Regions from separate parts of the Homo sapiens genome. Here regions 2 and 3 are each linked to region 1. Evidence: promoter capture Hi-C in 16 types of primary human blood cells and fetal thymus (Javierre and others, 2016). All regions are on one chromosome and are shown on one strand. The core of a region is centred on a gene start or on the middle of the fragment in contact, and the rest is flanking DNA. Distances in the headings are between cores, read along the strand shown.

What was found. Contacts are between HindIII fragments. The CHiCAGO score rates a contact against its expected background, and 5 or more counts as called.
Region 2: a fragment that was not itself captured here is called in contact with the fragment with the promoter of PMPCB in region 1 in 15 of 17 cell types (total CD8 T cells, naive CD8 T cells, activated CD4 T cells and 12 more); the score reaches 13.8 in total CD8 T cells.
Region 3: a contact is called between a fragment that was not itself captured here and the fragment with the promoter of PMPCB in region 1, in 13 of 17 cell types (activated CD4 T cells, total CD8 T cells, M2 macrophages and 10 more). The highest score is 9.2, in activated CD4 T cells.

The regions. Positions count from the first base shown.
Region 1 is chr7:103,295,859-103,299,648 of GRCh38, reverse strand. PMPCB (peptidase, mitochondrial processing subunit beta) reads right to left here and starts at 2,214. Exons shown (of 13, transcript NM_004279.3): 1 at 2,091-2,214; 2 at 941-1,081; 3 at 120-206. The coding sequence starts at 2,189. RefSeq lists enhancers at 1,960-2,259, 2,360-2,419. The HindIII fragment of the contact is 11,349 bases long and covers 1-3,790 here.
Region 2 is chr7:103,337,785-103,341,284 of GRCh38, reverse strand. DNAJC2 (DnaJ heat shock protein family (Hsp40) member C2) reads left to right here. Exons shown (of 17, transcript NM_014377.3): 3 at 3,474-3,500. It also overlaps a transcript of PMPCB not described here. Among named protein-coding and RNA genes, the nearest start is that of DNAJC2, 5.2 kb to the left of the region's middle. The HindIII fragment of the contact is 4,443 bases long and covers 1-3,500 here.
Region 3 is chr7:103,356,454-103,359,988 of GRCh38, reverse strand. The region is part of intron 4 of PSMC2 (proteasome 26S subunit, ATPase 2); the gene reads right to left. It also overlaps a transcript of SLC26A5 not described here. Among named protein-coding and RNA genes, the nearest start is that of PSMC2, 11 kb to the right of the region's middle. The HindIII fragment of the contact is 5,225 bases long and covers 1-3,535 here.

The DNA of each region.
Region 1 (3,790 bases), core at 965-3,464:
GAAAAATAAACATAAAACATGTTATACTACTGAAAGAGCTCTCCCTGCCTCTAAAGAATGAGACTTTGTGCTTATTATCTCTTAAAGAGAGTGCATTTTTGTAAAGTCTTACAACTTGCCTTGAAAGCCATATGCTCCAGAAAGTGTGCTGTTCCATTGTTCTTCTCATTTTCGTATCTACTTCCAGCATCAATCCAGAGTCCAACCTTAATGCAATCAAAGAACAATTAAATAAATTCATTTTATTTATTTGAGGTTGGGGGGAACAGTCTCCTTCCTTTTTCTGACAAATGCTTTCTGGTCTTAACACTAAGATTTTCTTGACCTGAGTGAATTGATAGTTCATTCCTGTGAACTATGAGATTTAAAAATTTCGATCAGGATACTGCTGGGTGCTACAAGTATCTACCTGCCACCTTCAATGAGGATTCTTTGCCCAACTCATTAATCCAGCCAATTAATAACTGTAGTATCAAGAACATCAGAGACTGTCAGAAAACTTCGGTTGAAATCCTGGCTCTGTCATGTATTAGCTGAGTTACCTGAACAAAACCATTTAACTTCTCTCACTTCCTTAACTATAAAACAGGTGTGAGGATGCCCACTACAAACAATTGCTTTTTATCAAATAAGACATCAGTAAAAACACTTGGCAGAGTAGCCCTGCAAACATATTTCTTTCATTATTATCAATACTACTGAAAATAAATAATCAATAATAAGCTACAAGAACAAGATGCAGACAATGCAACAGGATACATATGCACCCTGTAACTAAGTACCACTGGAAGAAAAGGTTCACAACTCATGGAAATCTGTCAAGGCAAAATAACTGTCACCCTTTTTGAACCACCAGCCAACGAAAAAGCTAAAGATTAAAATCAACAATTTGCTACGCTAAATGAAGGGTCACTTAGAGAAGGTTGCCTGAGTCACTTACTGTGCATGTTGAGAGCCCAGAGTCTTCCGAAGCTACTCTGAGTCCACTTTCTAAACATGTTACTCTTGTTTCAGGAACATTCAGAACAACTTGGGTAGCAGCCTGTGTACTTCTTAATCTGTTCTCTCCAAAATATAATGACTGGTTGGGGGTAGGAAGTGGAAGAGACAAAGCAAAACACATTACTAATCTGATATTAAATGTTGCTTTTAAAACCAAATCTATTTTAAATAGGCTGTCTCTATAAAAGAATCTTTCTTCTTGAATTTTGGTTCCACTGAGATCTCTGCCTGGCCTAGAAACATCTGTCACCAGCCACTGTCCTAAAGCCAGCAACGTGTTTATAAACATGCCCTTCCCTCAGGGAAGATGAGCAATTATTATCATTACCCAGAGAGAAATTGACTTTATTTCACTACCTCTCCTAGAAATGTTTTATATTCATTATGGAGAAAACAAGCAGGAAAAAAAAAAAGAGAGGGAAACTATGTAAAACTACCTACACACAAGACAAAACTGACACTCGGGTTTTCATTGTTCAAGAAAAGCAACAGGGTTTGGAAATGGTTAAAAAAAAAAAGAGAGAGAGGATAGGAAGATGGGTCGATGTTCAAAATGCAAATGACTGGCTTTTCGGCCAGAAACTATTCGCCTTTCAGCAGTTTTTCTTTGCCCTTATACAAAAGTCTCACATCCCTTTGCTTAAAGTCAGAGGCTCTCTCATGAGAAAAATGCAAATACATAAAAAATTTTACTTCATTGATGTCCAGGTTCGCGGGAAGCCCAGCTGAGGACGAAGTTCAGTCTTAGGCAAAAATAGAACTCTGGAGCGGTACCCATTTCACTTTTTAGTTTTCCCCAATTTGCAAGCACTACGTTTTTAGTGGTCAAACATGCACTCCTCAGTAGCTGGCGGGAGGAGCCGAAAACCAGGGTCATCCCACACGTCACTAGCAGGTCTCCTGGCGGGTGGCCACAAGCCAGTCACCCCCGGCCAGTTCAGCAGCCCCAGGCCGCCTGGCGCCCGGCGGGTCCGGGTCGAGGAGGCCCTGCCCGACCCACTGTTCGGATCTGTGGCGCCGACTCTCAGGTGCGCTGCGCCGGGTCTGGCGAGATCTCGAGGACAGGACCGGCCTGGAGGGAAGCTCACCCGTCCCGCAGCGCCTCGGATTAGAAGACTCTCGCTGAAACCCCAGAGCCGCCGCCGCGCCGCGGATGACAACACCACTCGAGCCGCCGCAGCCGCCATTTCTGCTAGAAGGAAGGTAGAGGATGAAGGATGTGCTTCCGGGGTCGCGACCTGAGGTCCCAGAGCAGGGAGGTGGGCTCCACCTTGTGGCCGTGATGGGAATGACACTCCTCGAAGCGGTTGTGAAAGCAATCAGGGCCCGACCATGATGCTGAGCGGTCTTTACCAAATGAATTGGGGAGTCTGCAGAAGCCCCTTTATCATCAGTTATTTTATCGATCGCCTACTAAGTGCAAGGCACAAATGCGGTGGAATGAAAGGTAACCTGATGCAATATATCTCACTGGTGGATGGAATTGATTGAAAACAGTGGAATAATATTCATAAGTCACTGCCTTTAAAGGAAAAGTCTAGTGGGAGAGACAGATGCCGTGAGGGGAGGAAACGATGTATCCGTGTTGACCACTATCCACTCTTCGAACCTCTACAATATGGCTCATCTCATTCCATAGAAATTGCCCTTGGTAAGGTCACTAATTGCTAAAAGTTGGACACTTTACAGACTTATGTTACAGTCCTGTTGGAGGATTTGACATTGTTGGCTTCTTTGAAATTCTCTTTTCTCAATATATTCTAGAGCTCCACCTCCTCATAGTTCCCTCTGCACCTTCTTGGACTCCTCTTTATTCACAGATCTGTTTTTTGTTTTTGTTTTTGTTTTTGAGATGGAGTTTCACTCTTGTTGCCCAGGCTGGAGTGCAGTGGTGCAATCTCAGCTCACTGCAACCTCTGCCTCCTGGGTTCAAGCAATTCTCCTGCCTCAGCCTCCCAGGTAGCTGGGATTACAGGCATGTGCCACCACGCCTGGCTACTTTGTATTTTTAGTAGAGATGGGGTTTCACCATATTGGTCAGGCTGGTTTTGAACTCCTAACCTCAGGTAATCCACCCACCTCCACCTCCCAAAGTGCTAGGATTACAGGCGTGAGCCACTGCGCCCAGCCCACAGATCTCTCAAGGAACTAAAAATTGCAAATGCTTTTCTAACTCAGGTAGATGGTATAGTGCTTATTTTGCAATTAAGACACTGAAGTCAAATAACTTGCCCCAGGTTACCCTGCTAGTAATAGGTTAACGCCAAAGACTGTGCTGTGAAACACTACATTTTGCCCTAAAAGTTGGTGTTTGCCAGGACTCTAAGCCTCTTCTACTGAACATTCTCCCTCTGGGTTTTTCCCTCCACTTCAAGACCTGTCTGCCCAACCCAGGCCTTTCTCTTGAGCTCCAGCCCACTTAACCATCAACTACTAGGAAACTACACTTGAATACCCCATTGGAAACTCAATATCAACTTGTCCAAAAGGGAATTCACTGTGTCCCCTGAATCTCTTCCCATATTTGCAATGCCAAACAGCCAATCATACCTACATTTGCCCAAAACTCCAAACCACCCAGAAGCTCCTCTCTTTTTCCATCTTCCACATTCAATTGATACACCCCTTTCCTGCCTCTTCAATCTACTCCAGGCCCATTGTCAGTTTTTTCACATTACTACCTATAGGATCTTTTACAAATGAAACTGTTACGGCAGTCCCATTATGAAGAATCCATCAGGGAGCCCTTGGTCACAATAAAGTAAAGGGTCCTTAGCATGGCAGGTGG
Region 2 (3,500 bases), core at 350-2,849, 42 kb before region 1:
AAGATACCATCAAAAGTTTCTTAGCTAATTTTAGAAAAGTAATTCCCTTGGCAGTACAGGAAATTGCTTGAAAGGGGGCAAGGGACTGGAGGGGAAGTGAATAGTTTACTGTTATAGGGCTAGTGCACTAAGGCAGACCTGTGACTGAATCCTTGAACTTACTATGTGGCTGGGTTTTGAGGAAGAGGGGTCAGATTTGCCTTTTTTGGAGGTAGCATTAACAGGCTTTGGTGACCCTGGCTGTGTGGCACAAGACAAAGAGAAGTATTCAGAGGTCCTTCCCAGCATTAGCGCTTGAGTGACCTGCTAGAGTGTGTGGTCAGTAACCAATGCTGGGATGAGGATAAGAATGTTTGTGGGAGGTGCTGTTTGTGTCCAAGTTTGACTATGTGAAGACTGAGGTTTTGGTACCATAGTGGTGAAGCTGTCTAGTAGATGGTTAGAAATTGGTCTATGACTCCAAAAAGAGGTTACAGCCAAAGACTTTTTGAAGTCATTGGCACATAGTGGTGGTTGCTGTGAGGAATTGAATGACAACAGCAAGGGACAAAAGTATAAACAAATAGATAATGCTTTAGTAGGTACTTGTATAATAGTTAAATGCGTATGCTGTGGAATTGGAGTGCCTGAATTCAAATCTGGTTCTGCCATTTGGTGCACTTCGACCTTGGGAAAGTTCCCAGATATGTGTGTACCTCATTTCCCTTGTTGCTACAGTGAGATTGTTAACAGCTCAAAGGTTTACCTTGAGGATTAATAAAAGGATGCTTATAAAGCACTTAAGTTAGTACTTGCTGCATGATAAATGCCAAACAAATAATGGATAATAAGAGTTCCTATGTCATTGGTTGTTTAGAGGACTAAATAAGCTAAAGCATATGTATAAAACATTTAGAAAAGTAAGCACTCAGAAAGTGTTAGCTGATTCTCCCACCACCTCATCCATTTTAAAAGAAAAAGACAACATTGGGGAGCATGGATATTTAAGGGGTAGGAAGAGGAGGAAAAACAGCAGAAGATACTAAGAAGGGTGACAGAAGTAGAAAGAAAACAAAGAAAAAGACACTTTGTTATTTGAAGAAATACTTCCTAAACATCAGGCAGCGTATTCTTCCAGAAACTAAGGGAGGAGCAAGAGGGAAAAAGAGGCAGGGTGCAGTGGCTCATGCCTGTAATCCCAGCACTTTGGGAGGCTGAGGCGGGCAGATCACCCGAGGTCAGGAGTTCGAGACCAGCCTGACCAACATGGTGAAACCCCATCTCTACTAAAAATACAAAATTAGCCAGGCGTGGTGGCACATGCCTGTAATCGCAGCTACTTGGGAGGCTGAGGCAGGAGAATCACTTCAACTCAGGAGGTGGAGGTTGCTGTGAGCCGAGATCATACAATTGCACTCCAGCCTGGGCAACAAGAGCAAAACTCTATCTCAAAAAAAGGGGCGTGGGAAGAGTCACCTGTGTCACTGCTTCAGAAAGAGGTCAATCACATAACATGAAAAATTATTTTAAAAAACACTGGACCGGGCATGGTGGCACATGCTTATAATCCCAGCTACTCAGGAGGCTGAAACAGGAGAATCGCTTGAACCTGGGAGGTGGAGATTGCGGTAAGCTGAGATCGTGCCACTGCACTCCAGCCTGGGCAACAAGAGTGAAACTCCATCTCAAAAAAAAAAAAAACCATTGGATTTGGCAAACTAAAAGTTTCGGTGTCCTCATTGAAAGCAGTTTGAGTAAAATGATCGGGAAGGCAAGAGATTACAGTGAATGAAGAGTGATTAGGAAGTGATGAAGTAGGATCAAAGTGTAAAGTACTCTTTCAAAGCTGGGTAGTAAAGAAAATGAGAGAAGATAGTAACTTCAGGAGAAGGCAGAGTCGGGAAAAGACAGAACTGGGGAGTGTTGAGATCTATAAGAGGGAGAAGGTCTTTGGTATAGAAAGAAGTAGATTGTATCAGAGTAAGGTAGCAGAGTTCATTCACTTGTTCAGTTTATTTTCATTCATCAAATATGGATCAAACACCATGTCAGATACTGTTCTAGGTGTCAAGGATACTGTACTGAACAAGACAGTATTACTGCTTACACACAGCTTATATTCCAGTGACATAATAAGTAAACAAGAACATGTAGCCATAAGTTCCATAGGATGGCCATAAGCTATCAACAGGTGCTAAGAGAAAAAAGGGGTCTTTGGTCAAGTAAGTTTGGAAAATGCTAGGTTTTACAGGTTTCTGTTTGTTTATTTTTTAAATCTAATTACAGGACTTCTCAGAGCCTTTCTTAGGCCTTTGTGCATACAAATCATCAAGGAGGCTGTATAATAGTCCACATTTACCTCTTTTTTAAATTTATTTTTTATTTTATTTTATTTTGAGACGGAGTCTCACTCTGTTGCCCAGGCTGGAGTGCAGTGGCGCAGTCTTGGCCCACTGCAACCTCCGCCTCCCAGGTTCAAGCAATTATCTTGCCTCAGCCTCCCGAGTAGCTGGGATTACAGGTGGGCGCCACCACGCCCGGCTAATTTTTGTATTTTTAGTAGAGACAGGGTTTCACCATGTTAGCCAGGCTGGTCTCAAACTCCTGACCTCATGATCCACCCACCTCAGCCTCCCAAAGCACTGGGATTACAGGCGTAAGCTGGCATGCCCAGCCTGTCTCTTCTTTTTTTTAAAGACAGGGTCTTGGCCGGGTGCAGTGGCTCACACCTGTAATCCCTTGGCCCTTTGGGAGGCCAAGGCAGGTATATCACCTGAGGTCAGGAGTTCGAGACCAGCCTGACCAACAAGGTGAAACCCTGTCTCTACTAAAAATACACAAATTAGCCAGGCGTGGTGGTGTGCACCTGTAATCCCAGCAACTTGGAAGGCTGAGGCAGGAGAATTGCTTGAACCCGGGAGGCGGAGGTTGCAGTGAGCCAAGATGGCACCACTGCACTCCAGCCTGGGCAACAGAGCAAGACTCCGTCTCAAAAAAATAAAATAAAATCTTAAAATCATTAAAAAAAAAAAAAAAAAGACAGGGTCTTGCTCTGTCGCCTATCCTGGAGTGCAGTGGCATGATCACAGCTCACTGCAGCCTCTACTTACTAGACTCAAGTAATCCTGCTACTTCTGCCTCCTGAGTAGCTGGAACTACAGGTGCACACCACCACACCCAGCTAATTTTTAAAAATTTTTTTGTAGAGACAGAGATCTTACTTTGTTGCCCAGGCTGGCCTCATATTCCTGGGCTCAAGCAATCCTCCACCTGGGCCTCCCAAAGTGCTAGGATTACAGGCATGAACCATGGCACCCAGCCTAATCCACATTTCTCAACCTTACCTGACCATAGACCCTGGTTTATACAGAACCTCTTACTGGACTCCTGATGAAATGTCACTTTGGGAAATGCTTATTAAGGTACCAGAACACAAGGGATGGAATATATTGGCTTCATTTCAAATTTGACTCCCTTTTGTGTTTTTTTTCCAGAACCAAGATCATTATGCAGTTCTTGGA
Region 3 (3,535 bases), core at 213-2,712, 61 kb before region 1:
CTGCGTCAGCCTCCTAAGTGTCTGGGATTACAGGCGCCTGCCACCACGCCCAGCTAATATTTTTATATTTTTAGTAGAGACAGGTTTCACCATGTTGGCCAGGCTGATCTCAAACTCCCAACCTCAAGTGATCCACCTGCCTCAGCCTCCCAAAGTGCTGGGATTACAGGCATGAGCCACTGCGCCCAGTCAAACAAAAACCTTAAATCAGTACAAGAAATATTTTCAAAAAGCTAAAGGAAACCATATCTAAAGAGTTTATAGGAATGATGAGAAGAATGTCTCACCAATAGTGAATACAGATAGAGAAATTAGACTGGAATATTATTTGGCCATAAAAAGTTCCATCTATTTTAGAATACGGATGAACCTTGAAATATGCTAAGTGAAGGAAGCCATGTACTATATGATTCCATTTAGATGATATGTCCAGGATAGACAAATTCATAGAAACAGAAAGTAGATAAATGGTTGCCAGGGGCTGGAAAGAGACGGGAATGAAGACTGCTAATGGGTATTGGGTTTGTTTTTGGGGTGACAAAAATATTCTATTCTGGAATTAGATAGTGATGATCAATGCACAATTTTCTAGATATTCTAAAAATCACTAAATTGTATACTTTAAAAGAGTGAACCTCATGATATCTGAATTTTATATCAGTAAGATTGTTATTAAAAAAATTCATAAGCTGGCTGGGCACGGTGGCTCACACCTGTAATCCCAGAACTTTGGGAGGCCAAGGTGGGCAGATGGCTTGAGCCTAGGAGTTCAAGAGCAGCCCAGGCAACATGGCAAGACCCTGTCTCTACTAAAAATTAAAAAAAAAAAAAAAAAAAAAAAAAAAAAAAAGCCAGACATGGGGTGGTATGCACCTGTGGTCCCAGCCACTTGGGAGGCTGAGGTGGGAGCCCAGGAAGCAGAGGCTGCAGCGAGCTGAGATCATGTTACTGCACTCCAGCCTTGGTAACAAAGTGAGACCTTGTCTCAAAAAAAAAAAAAAATTCACAAGCTAAAAATTACACATACACAAATTTTATCAAGAGTTTTAAGCAAAGAGTATGAGACTAAAATCAATGGAAACTTTTTCAAAATAATCTTTGCTTTCTTTAAGGCCTGGGATCTTGTAGGGGTATAGGGCTCTTTAGCTAGTCTGTCTGTTATGAAAAATCTATATGAAAAGTTTCCCTCTAACTGCTTTACAGAAAAAAGAAAATTCCCCTCATACGGCCTAGAAAAATGTACCTAGATTTTTTAATTTACCATAGAGAGATAAGAACATATTACAACCATGATATAAGAGCAGAACATTCAACACACACACAAAAATGAAAGAATAAAGATAAGAGCCTTGAAATAAAAAACCTGAGTTTTTTTACCTGAGAAATTAAAAACCTACGAGAAGAAAAATGGGAGGAAAAAAACATCAACAGAAAAATTCAAAGATAAAGAAAAGCTCATAGAAAGTAAAGTAAAAAGGCAAAAAGAAGAAAAACAGGAAGGAAAGATTAGCAAATTAGAGGAGCAATCCTGGAGGCCCCATATCCAAATAAGAGAATTCAGGAATAAGGGTCCAAGAAAACGGAAGGAAAGAAATTAACAAATAGTTTCAAGAAGATTTGCCTTACTAAAGGACAAGAGAGCCCAGGACAATGGATGAAAACAGACCAACACCAAGGCACATCACCATGAAATTTCAAAATAGAACAAGAGAAGACTCTACAATTTTCAGAGAAAAATTAGGCCACATATACAGGACTGAGGATCAGAATGGCTTCAGAGTAACACTGGGAGGCAAAGGACAACAGAACGACGCCTTCAAAATTTTGAAGGGAAAAGAACTGTATACTCAGCTAAGACACTTTCAGACATATGCAGTCTCAAAATATTACCTCCCAACTGACCCTTTTCCAAGAAGCTACCAGAGGATGTATTAGACCAAGCAACAGGAGAGAGGTAAAGGGCAATCTCCAGGGTAGAGAAGTCAGACAACAATTGTCATTAAACAGGCATAAAGGACAACTGGTCCAAACCAAAGCAGGTCAGAAGGTGCTGGGAAAAACTTAAGGAAAATGAAACCGAGAGAACACCAGATGCAACTAAGGTATAACTGAGAGAAAACGAACAGATCTAATGCATCTGAAGAGCAGTTTAGACAATCAAGAGAAAGTGGGAGGTTGAGTTCATAATATATGCACAGAAAACCAGGCAAATGAAAAAACAAGACGTTATAACAACCACCACTAAAAGAAGTGGTACAAGAAAGGAAAAGCAATCACAGCTTACCACTTGGCTCTTTGTGAATAGTGTTTACATAGCCATAATCATATAAACACTGAATACTGATCTAACCAAAATTATAACAGAATTACATAGGAAGGATGAGGGGATAGGAAAGGTGTGCCTTCAAGGTGAAGGCAGAGGAAACAAAACAAAATCCTCATCTTCCATGATGGAAAGCCAAAAGATAATACCTAAAACTAAAAAATCAAGAAGTAGGAATCTATAATACACAAGATATAGCAATATCCATTAGAACCATGAAGACGAAAACCAAAATAATCAGCTAAAAAAGGTGAAAATGAGTGTCATTAGGGAAGAGAAATTGGGAAATACAGTTGTTATTATTTAACTGTTTAACTCTTTTCTTTTTTTTTTTTTTTTGAGACAGAGTATCACTCTGTCACCCCAGGCTGAAGTGCAGTGGCACAATCTCAGCTTACTGCAACCTCTGCCTCCCAGGTTCAAGCGATTCTCCTGCCTCAGCCTCTCCAGTAGCTGGGATTACAAGCGCCCGCCACCACACCCAGTTAATTTTTGTATTTTTAGTAGAGACGGGGTTTCACTATGTTGACCAGGCTGGTCTTGAACTCCTGACCTCAAGTCATCTGCCTGCCTGGGCCTCCCAAAGTGCTGGGATTACAGGCGTGAGCTGCCGTGCCCAGCCTGAACTATTTAACCCTTCAAAAACCATGATAAAACTAAAAAGTGAGTGAATAAATAAAAGTGAGAAAAGATGGAAATTGTGAAGTAGGGAGGGTGAGTAGATGGGAAATAAAAATAATCTTTAGCTTTTAGGAACTAAAAATAAAAACAAAATTTTTAAAAGGATTATAAACAGAGGAGAATATGTTTATAGCCTTGAATTGGGCTAGGTTTTTCTAAGCAACATTAACACCCAAAAGGTATAATGGAAATATTGGTATATTTTATCTCCTAAAAATGTAAAACATTAGTACAACAAAAGGTACCAAGAAGTTAAAAGTGACTAGGGAAAAATACTTGTAGCATACTTAAGAAAAGACAATATGTACAATATATGAACTGTTTCTAAAATTAACAAGAAACAACCCAAGAACAAAACATGAGTAGTCAAAGAAATACAGATGTTTAGTAAACAAAAGAAGTAGCTATCATACTAGTAATCAACACAGTACAAATTAAAATTATTTTCCCTCAAATGGCAAAAGTGTAAAAATTGAAAACTGCGTATCTTACATTGATCAGACAAATGGACATTTGCCTCAAAGCCTCTTG